Regions from separate parts of the Homo sapiens genome. Here all the other regions are linked to region 2. The links are contacts of gene promoters, found by promoter capture Hi-C in blood cells and fetal thymus (Javierre and others, 2016). All regions are on one chromosome and are shown on one strand. Each heading gives the region's core, a stretch centred on a gene start or on the middle of the fragment in contact. The rest is flanking DNA. Distances are from core to core; before and after follow the strand shown. Region 1 has its middle 16 kb from the start of PRDM13. Region 2 holds the start of POU3F2 (POU class 3 homeobox 2). Region 3 has its middle 18 kb from the start of CCNC.

Evidence for each region. Contacts are between HindIII fragments. The CHiCAGO score rates a contact against its expected background, and 5 or more counts as called.
Region 1: a contact is called between a fragment that was not itself captured here and the fragment with the promoter of POU3F2 in region 2, in 1 of 17 cell types (total B cells). The highest score is 8.9, in total B cells.
Region 3: a fragment that was not itself captured here is called in contact with the fragment with the promoter of POU3F2 in region 2 in 2 of 17 cell types (total B cells and naive B cells); the score reaches 10.7 in total B cells.

The regions. Positions count from the first base shown.
Region 1 is chr6:99,621,620-99,624,635 of GRCh38, reverse strand. No RefSeq gene overlaps it. Among named protein-coding and RNA genes, the nearest start is that of PRDM13, 16 kb to the right of the region's middle. The HindIII fragment of the contact is 5,828 bases long and covers 1-3,016 here.
Region 2 is chr6:98,832,726-98,836,066 of GRCh38, reverse strand. POU3F2 (POU class 3 homeobox 2) reads right to left here and starts at 1,493. Exons shown (of 1, transcript NM_005604.4): 1 at 1-1,493. The coding sequence starts at 1,193. RefSeq lists enhancers at 1-179, 180-776, 775-844 and a silencer at 1,483-1,552. The HindIII fragment of the contact is 14,703 bases long and covers 1-3,341 here.
Region 3 is chr6:99,584,626-99,587,718 of GRCh38, reverse strand. It overlaps the pseudogene TSTD3. Among named protein-coding and RNA genes, the nearest start is that of CCNC, 18 kb to the right of the region's middle. The HindIII fragment of the contact is 191 bases long and covers 1,371-1,561 here.

The DNA.
Region 1 (3,016 bases), core at 160-2,659, 790 kb before region 2:
TTGTTTAAGACTCAGCTCAGGTGTTGCATCCTCCAGGAGGCCTTTTCCTATATAACTCCTTCCCTGCCCTCACCCTTCTCTCTCTAAGAAGGTACCCTTCCTCTGTGTTCATCTCCATCACTATACCCACCACATTGTGTTATCAATTTCTGTTCTTATGTTTGCCTTCTCCACTAGACCATGAGCTTGAGACAATCTTTCTGTTTTGTTTTGTGTTTTGTTTTGTTTTTAGACAGGGTCTCACTCTGCCACCCAGGCTAGAGTGAGACCTCTGCCTCCTGGGCTGAAGCAATCCTCCCACCTCAGCCTCCTGAGTAGCTGGCACCACAGGCACACACAACCATGCCCGACTTTTTCTATTTTTGATAAAGATGGGTTCTTGCCATGTTGCCCAGGCTGGTCTCACACTCCTGAGCTCAATGGATCAGCCCATCTTGGCCTCCCAAAGTGCTGGGATTACAGACGTGAGCCACTGCACCTGGCTTGAGACCATCTTAATCATCCATATGTCCCCAGCCAGTGCTGTGCCTGGCATGTAGTGGGCTCTCAGTGCTTCATCAATGTTCAGAGTAAGAAATAAAGAATGTTTAATCAACTAATTCTCAACTATTTGTTGAGTATCTACTATGTCTAATGTATGTATTAAAGTTTTGGGCTGGGACAGTCAGGGAAGGCTATAGAGAAAAGAGAAGATTTTAAATGGGGTCGAAAGATGTACAAGGCTCAGAAAGCAAAGCCACATATCAATAATCTAAATCTAATGTTTGAGCAAATGCTTAGGCTGGGGACCATGGTTAGCTATAAATGGCAAAGCTGAGAAGTTGATTGTCTTCCTCTTGCTCTTGAATTCTATCAGATCAGCTGTTTCCTTATCCAAGAGCAAAGTGTCAGATTCAAGCTGTGTTCCAGGGCATTTAACCTTTCAATGATGAGCATCTCACCTTAACTCTAAGATCATCTCCTAGGACAGAAAATTGTGGAAATGCTTCTAAATAAATTAAAAACCTAGAGACGGTTAGATCATGAGATACATTAATAATAATGAAATGTCAGAAACATGTGCAGCTACATGTAATGAACTCAACAACTGTCCGAAGGTCATAGAGGTCTTCCTGCAAAATACATGTCATTCTGTTTACATCAAACACAGAAAACTCATTTACAAGTGAATGTCATTTTCATCTTTGTTCCATGGCCAAGTACATCTCATTTGCATTTGTTTTTTTCCCTACTGGAGTGCTTGTCACTATTCTACAGCTGGTGTGGGTTGTGCTCAGTACCTGCTACTTACCATAGGCTCAGGCTCTAGTCATCCAGTTACAAGTCTGAATCATAATCCCAAAGACGGTTTTACATAAGGTATTTTTAAATAATATGCATCATTGGGAAATCAAAATTTGGTGATAGTGTTCACAGGAAAAAACTAAAAGTTCAAATGCATGTGCATGCAAACATACTCTTTTCCCATGTGAGCCCAACATTAGGATTTCTATATTGCTAGGCCTGGAGAGGTACAGTTCTATAGCTAAGGCCTCCCAAGGATCCTTTGCCAAATTCCCAAGAGAACAAAAGAATGGGGTGGAGGCCCCATTGTTGTCTCCCTATGTACAGAGTATGATCAAGAGCTAAAGGTAACTCTGAGTTTTCCAACTATGGAGAGAAGGACCAGTTGAACAGTCAGCCAATCATCCCTCTCCCAGACGCTGGTCTGATTCTGACACTGTCCTGGCCAGCTCAGCATCCTCAATAGCTCTTTCCTCACTGCAATCAAAGCAGTAGCACCTTATGAAACACACCTGCAGCCCACCTACAAAATCACTTAACACAAGTTATTCATTGAAGTGTCTTTAAGGTAATAAAAGATTGAAAACAACCCAAAGGTCATCAACAGGAGAATTGGTTAAATCTGTCTTTCTACATCTACACAATAGAGTACTATGTAGCAATAAAAGAAAAAAAAAGTGAGGAGGCTCTCTTTGAATTATCATGGAAAATTTCTCCACAGTATATTAATTTGAATAAAAAGCAGGATACAGAAGAGTGAATATTAAATATTTAAGACAGGGAAGAAAATAAAAATACATTCATTCTTGGATATTTGTATTTACAAAAAGAAAACTAGATGTATACAAGAAACTAAAATAAGTGATTACAAGTATAGATCAAGATTTTTTGGTTTTGAAATTCATAGAATTTGGGGGATCTACTTTAAGAAATAAAACACAGAATTAGGTACTGGTCTGTATTTGTCCATTTTCATGCTGCTGATACCTGAGACTGGGAAGAAAAAGAGGTTTAATTGGACTTACAGTTCCACATGGCTGAGGAAGCCTCAGAATCATGGTGGGAGGCAAAAGGCACTTCTTACATGGCAGCAGCAAGAGAAAAAATGAGGAAGAAGCAAAAGCGGAAACCCCTGATAAACCATCAGCTCTCTTGAAACTTATTCAGTATCATGAGAATAGCATGGGAAAGACCGGCCCCCATGATTCAATTACCTCCCCCTGGGTCCCTCCTACAACACTTGGGAATTCTGGCAGACACAATTCAAGTTGAGATTTGGCTGGAACACAGCCAGACCATATCAAGGTCTTATATAAGGATTTCACGCCAGTGAGCTTCGTGGTACCTCTACCCGTGGTTGATTACCTATGAGCTGACAGAAGTGCACAGAAATGAGATTGGATTAAGACTCCTAGATAGATACCTATTTAGACAGTTTTGTTCTTTGAAAATTGAGTATATTTCTTATTTAGAATGCAAAACCTACCTTTTTTTTTTTTTTTTTTTTTTTTTTGGTAGATACAGGAGTCTCGTTATGTTGCCAAGGTTGGTCTTGATCTCCTGGCCTCAGAGTGATCTTTCTGCCTTGGCCTCCCAAAGTGCTGGAATTATGGGCATGAACCACCTCACCTGAGCATCTCAATCATCTTATTTAAGTTTGGCTCCATTCTGCAACCTTGTGTCTGCAGGGATTCTCCCTCAGCCCGACTTTTTCCTGATGACAATGTGCCTA
Region 2 (3,341 bases), core at 244-2,743:
ACCACCTCCTTCTCCAGCTGTAAGCTGTCCGCGAGGGAGGTGATCTCCTGGGCCGAGGGCTTGGGGCATTTGAGGAAATGGCTCTCCAGAGCCCCCTTGACGCTCACCTCGATGGAGGTCCGCTTTTTCCGCTTGCGCCCTTGCGCTGCGATCTTGTCTATGCTCGTGGGGCTGCCCGAGGACGAGTCCGCCTCCTCCAACCACTTGTTCAACAAAGGCTTCAGCTTGCACATGTTCTTGAAGCTCAGCTGCAGGGCCTCAAACCTGCAGATGGTGGTCTGCGAGAACACGTTGCCATACAGGGTGCCCAGAGCCAGCCCCACGTCCGCTTGGGTAAATCCCAGTTTGATCCGCCGCTGCTTGAACTGCTTGGCGAACTGCTCCAGGTCGTCCGAGGTCGGCGTGTCCTCGTCCGAGTGCGGGTCGTGGTGCGCGCCTGGGTGGCCAGGCGGACCCTGCGGGGGCGGCGGGGGCGGCGGCTGCTGGTGTGGGTGCGAGTGCGGGTGCGGGTGGTGGTCGGCATGGTGTGGCTCGTCGTGCGCGTCCCGCAGGCCGTGGTGGTGCAGACCGGCCGGCTGCCCGCCGGCGCCCAGCATGCCGTTCACCGTGAAGCTGGGCTGCGAGTAGAGCAAGCCGCCGTTGGACGCTCCCATGGAGGGTGGGAGGTGCGCTGCAGCCGCCGCGCTCCGCCATGCCCCGGGTCCCGGGTGGTGGTTAGCGGCGTGGTGCACCAGATGCGGCGGCCGCTGTTGCTGCTGCTGCTGCTGCTGTTGCTGCTGTTGCTGCTGCTGTTGCTGTTGCTGCTGCTGATGCTGCTGCTGCAGGGCGCCTGGCCCGTGCAGCTCGTCTCCGCGGCCGCCCTGCTGCACCACCACCGAGGGCTTGATGTCCGGCTGGCCCAGGGGGCTGGTGGACCACGGGGAGCCGTCGCCGCCGCCCCCGCCGCCGCCCCCGCCCCCCCCGCCGCCGCCACCGCCCCCGCCGCCGCCGCCGTGGGACAGCGCGGTGATCCACTGGTGAGCGTGGCTGAGCGGGTGTCCGTTGCTCTGCAGAGCGCCGTAGTCGCCCTGCACCAGGCTCTGCGCTTCGCGGTAGCCCCCCGCGCCCTGCTGCATGCCGCCGGGCGGCTCGGCGTGCACGATGGAGGCGCTGGAGGTGAGCAGGCTGTAGTGGTTAGACGCTGCGGTCGCCATGACTCTCGGAGCCGGACTGAGCGCTCCGGTTAAAGGAGCCGCGCATTTGACAGTTACTTTTTCGCCTCGGGCTCCCTCTCCTCGCTCGCTCTTTCTGTCTCCTCTCTCTCCCACAGCGGGCAGCTCCGACGCCCGCTCCGACGCCTTCTGTTGCTGCTCCTGCTATTACTGCTGCTGCTGCCGCCGCCGCCGCCTCCCGCCCGCCCTCGCTCTCTTTCTCCTCCTCTCCCTCCTTCTCGCTCTCGCTCACTCTCTGACTAGCTCGGCGCTCCCCCCTCTCCCTGCTCTCTCCAGCTCTCTCCCGCTCTCTTGGCAGCGCCGGCTCGCAGCGGCACGCGCCTGGGCCCCGCCCCCTCCGCCCCCTCCCATTGGCTCCGCGCCCTTTGATTTACGTGGATACCGCTAGCAACCTCCCAGGCCGGCGCCACTGATTGGCGCAGAGCTACTCCCTCCCCCTCCCCCGGGCTCGGAGTCCTCCTAGCCCTCCTCCCCGTCCCCTTCGCCTCCCGATTCAGATTCTCTCAGTTCTCACCCCCCCGCTTCTTCCTCACCCGGGGCCTCCTCCGCCCTCTCTCGGATGGGCCCCGCCCCCCATCTGTCTCCCAGGCAGAGAAGACCGGCAGGGGGGCGGTCCCGGTGCTCTTATCGGCCACAGACACTTGGAAGACTTGGATTGGGGTGGGGGGCGGGAGGCAGTGGTGTCCACTTTCGTTTCCCAATAGGGCTTTAAGATGGGGAAACGGAGGGGGTAAGGGAAAAGCTGGGTCGCACCGAGCCAGCGGGAGTCGGATTTTTATTCACCTAGGGACACACACACAGTGTGTATCTCTTAAACCTAGAGCCAAGAGCCAGACCTGTTCCCCTGTTCAACTCTCCTTGCATCCCACGGTTAGAATTTCAGTGCACAAGTGTCTCTTGCTCCAGGGTGTGCGGACACTTCGGCCCAAAGCTCTTCTCCTTCCCCTCTACCCCGCGGCTAGCACAGGCTCTCTTCCTTTTAGGTTCCAGGCCCAATTGTCTCCCACTCCCTTGGGGAAAGAACCCCGAGAGAGGCAGGCTCAGCCCGCACCGCGGCTTGTAAGTCATTCCCATCAAGGCTCGGAGTTGCTTGCTCTGACAGCGTAGCGGTCTGAACTGAAAACCAAACAAAACTCTAAAAGTCTCTCCGTCAGATTCACACGCCGGCGCGTGCAGTTTTTGGTTTAGAAAACTAGAAGCCTGCGTGGGCTCCGTCTTGTGCGAGGCTGCCGGAGTGCTGGCGAGGGGTGTGCGGCCTTGTAGGGGCGGCGCAGTCGCCAAAGGCCGCTCCGGGAAGCCGCGCGGAGGGCCTGCGTGCGCGATTCCCCGTGCTCCTACCGCTGGTAGGTGCAACTTTTCCGTTAGCCCCTTGGGAAGGAGGAAGAGTGTGTGAAGCAAATGGGCTGATGCCAGGGGAACCTTCCTAATCAGTAACTTCGGTGGGCGCTAGCGGGTGGGGTTAGTCTATGTCTTTGGCGCTCCCTGGCCAAGCTCCCAGCTCAGCTTTCAGCAGTGAACTCCAGAGCAAGACTATGGGACCATGCACCCGCAGCGCCGCTCTACGGAGCGCGGGCGCGTCGCGCCATCAGTTCTTTAGCCGCCCAGAGCAGGTGCCGCCTGCGAGTTTCCGAGCCTGCAAGCCCGGTAGCTAGAACTTGGGCGCGGACCCAGGCTGGAGCGGCGTGACCGCCACGCAGGGCCGGGTGTGTACATGGGCGCTGTAAAGCGAATCAACAGTTACTGCCGGGAAGGGAATGACAGACCCCAGGGAACCTGGATCGCGTCCCCACCTCTCACCCCTCGCTCTATCGCTGGTTTTGCCGGCGGTCGTAGGCTTGAGAGGGCAGCCAAATCAACGCTCAGAGGGAGCATTTTGGGGCCTCTGAGCATCTGAATCCAGACAGCAGACTGGAGCGGGCCAGAAAATTCATCATGACTAACAAGGAGTCATGCTCTTTGGAGAGTGGCTGAGCTGTTTATAAATCACCACGTTGAGCACCCGCCCGGGCAAGACGCTTTGGCTGAGAATTTCCACGTGTCCTGTGTTTATGAGCGTGTGTGGGGGAGAGAAATGGATAGGGGAGGGGCGAGCCCACAGGCCGCCAGCAGGACGGACCTGCACCCCCACCA
Region 3 (3,093 bases), core at 217-2,716, 750 kb before region 2:
AGAATCATAAAACAGGTACATCCTGACAACTTCACCCTGAAGTGGGAACACCACTACCCCAATACTTCTAGCTTTCTCTTAAGCCACTTTAGCTTCTGGCTTTCAAAAAGACCTGTGAGGCCTGAGTTAAGAGAAAAAGGACAAAGTATTTCTTCCTGTGTTCTTTGAACAGAATGCCCCTGAGATTCTAACCTCTGGGAGGCATACTTTTTTCACTTCAGCTCCTGAAAATGACTTTGTAAAGGAAACTGATTAATTTGGGTGGAGGGGTGATGGAGTCAGATGAAAAAGTCAGGAAAATAAGTTCAGGGAAGTAAGACCAAATGAAAGATTCCTGAGTTATTAGCCAGACTTTTACTGGGATGTGGAATTTGGTTTACTGTCTGTAATTAAGAGGTTGAGCTGCTTTTTTTCAGAAGTGTGGTACCCTGTCTAGTGGGCCTCTTTGAACTTAGATTTTGGGTCTGTAAAGCTTTTCATTTGTTGTTGTTTTTTTTAAATCACATTTTCTGAAGAATTCCATACATAGTCCCAATATTAGGAAGTAGGCCTAGCAGTTATTATTATTCTAATTTTTTTAATGAGCGTCAGATAAGTTACTTATCCAAAGCCACATGGTTGGTGAATAGAGGAGCCCTTGTTAGCATCTGGGTCTGATACTTAGCTCAGCGTCCTGCCCACCATTCCGCAACAGGAAAAAAAATTTTAAAACTTAACCAATAAATATCTATTGACAACCTATTAGCAGCTCAGCACAGTAGGAAGGCCTGTGGAAGTGTGCTATTTGCTGGTCCTTAATATGTTCAATGTTGACACATACCTGCTTTGTTCCTTCTTGGCACTATCAGTATAATATAGAAGTCATACACACTCTAGGCACACAGTCTGGAATTACTTCCTGGCTGCAGCATTCTACAGCCACACTTCATTTTATTGTGTTTCACAGATATTGTGCTGTTTACAATGGAAAGTGTGTGGTGACTCTGCATTGAGTACATCTATTGGTGCCATTTATCTGTTATGGTGATCTGCGATCAGTAATCTGTGGTGTTATTGTTGTAATTCTTTTGGGGTTCCATGAACTATATTTATATAAGTCAGCAAACATAATTGATAAATGTGTGTGTTCTGACTGCTCTACCGACTGGCAGTCCCCATCACTTCCCCTCTCTTCAGGCCTCCCTATTCCCTGAGACACAGCAGTGTTGAAATTAGGTCAGCTACACCCTACAATGGCCTCTAAGTGTAGGGTGAAAAGTAAAAGTGTTCAAGTGAAAAGAAAAGTTGCAAGTCTCTCACTTTATATGAAAAGCTAGAAATGGTAAGCTTAGTGAGGAAGGCATGTGGAAAGACAAGACAGGCACAAAGCTTGGCCTCCTACACCAAACCATTAGCCAAGTTGTGAATGCAAAGGAAAAGTTCTTGAGGAAAACTAAAAGTGTTGTTCCTGTGACCATACAAGTGATAGGAAAGCAGAACAGCTTTATTACTGATGCAGAGAAAGTTTGAGTGGTCTGAATAGAAAATCATACTAGCCACAATATTCCCTTAAACCAAAGCTTATTCCAGAGCAAAGCGCTAACTCTCTTTAATTCTGTGAAGGGTGAGAGAGGTGAGAAAGCTGCAGAAGAAAAGTTTGAAGCTAGCAGAGGTTGGCTCATGAGATTTAAGGAAAGATGTGGTCTCCAAAACATAAAAGTGTGAGGTGAAGCAGCAAGTGCTGATGCAGAAGCTGCAGCAAGCTAACCAGAAGATCTAGCTAAGATTGCTGATGAAGGTAGCTATACTTAACAATGGATTTTCTATGTAGGTGAAACAGCCTTCTATTGGAAAAAGATGCCATCTAGGACGTTCATAGCTAGAGAGAAATCAATGCCTGGCTTCAAACTTTAAAGGAAAATCTTCTGGAAAGGATTCATCATTTGTCATAACTATTAAGAACATTTGTGGGCTGGGTATGGTAGCTCACACCTGTAATCCCAGCACTTTGGGAGGCCAAGGTGGATGGATTGCTTGAGCACAGAAGTTCGAGACCAGCCTGGGCAAAATGGTGAAACCCCATCTCTACAAAAAATACAAACATTTGCTGGTCATGGTGGCATGCACCTGTAGTCCCAGCTACTCAGAGGCTGAGGTGGTAGGATCATTTGAGCCCAGGAGGTGGAGGTTGCAGTGAGCTGGGATTGTGCCACTGCACTCTAGCCTGAGCAATAGAGCAAGACTCTGTCTCAAAAAAAAAAAAAAGTTAAAGTGTTAAAAAAAATTTGTAACTCATGGGAAGAGGCTAAAATAGCAACATGTTATTCACAGGAGTTTGGAAAAAGTTGATTCCAACCATCATATATCACTTTGAGGGGTGCAAGACTTCAGTAGAGGAAGCAAGTGCAGGTGTGGTGGAACTAGCAAGAGAACTAGAAGTGCAGCTTAAAAATGTGACTGAATTGCTGCAACTCATGATCAGACTTGAACAGATAAGGAGGTACCTCTTATAAATGCTCAAAGAAAGTGGTTTCTTGAGATGGAATCTATTCCTGGTGAAGATGCTATGAACATTGTTTAAATGACAACAAAGGAATTACAATACTACATAAACTTAGTTGAGAAAGTATTGGCAAGGCCTGAGAGGACTGACTCCAATTTTGAAAGCAGTTCTACTGTGAGTAAAATGCTGTCAAACAGCATAGCATACTACAGAAAAATGTTTTGTGAAAGGAAGAGTCCACTGATGCAGCAAGCTTCACGGTTGTCTCTTTCTTTCTCTCTTTCTTTCCTTTCTTTCTTTCTTTTCTTCTTTCTTTCTTTCTTTCAGAGAGAGATTTTAACACACCTCTCATAGTAACTGACAGAAAAAAGCAGACAAAAAGATCAGTAAGAATATAAAATATTTAACCACATAATTAACAAACTTGCTGTACCCACAAATGTATGATAATAAACTCATACCTTTCAAATCAGAACACTTCAGTAAGTTTACCATGAATAAAGCAAATCATAAGTTGTCTTAGTTTTTTAAAATTACCACAGCCACCCCAACCTTCAGCAACCACTACCCTGATCAGTCAGCAGCCATTAACATCGAGGCAGGACTCTCCA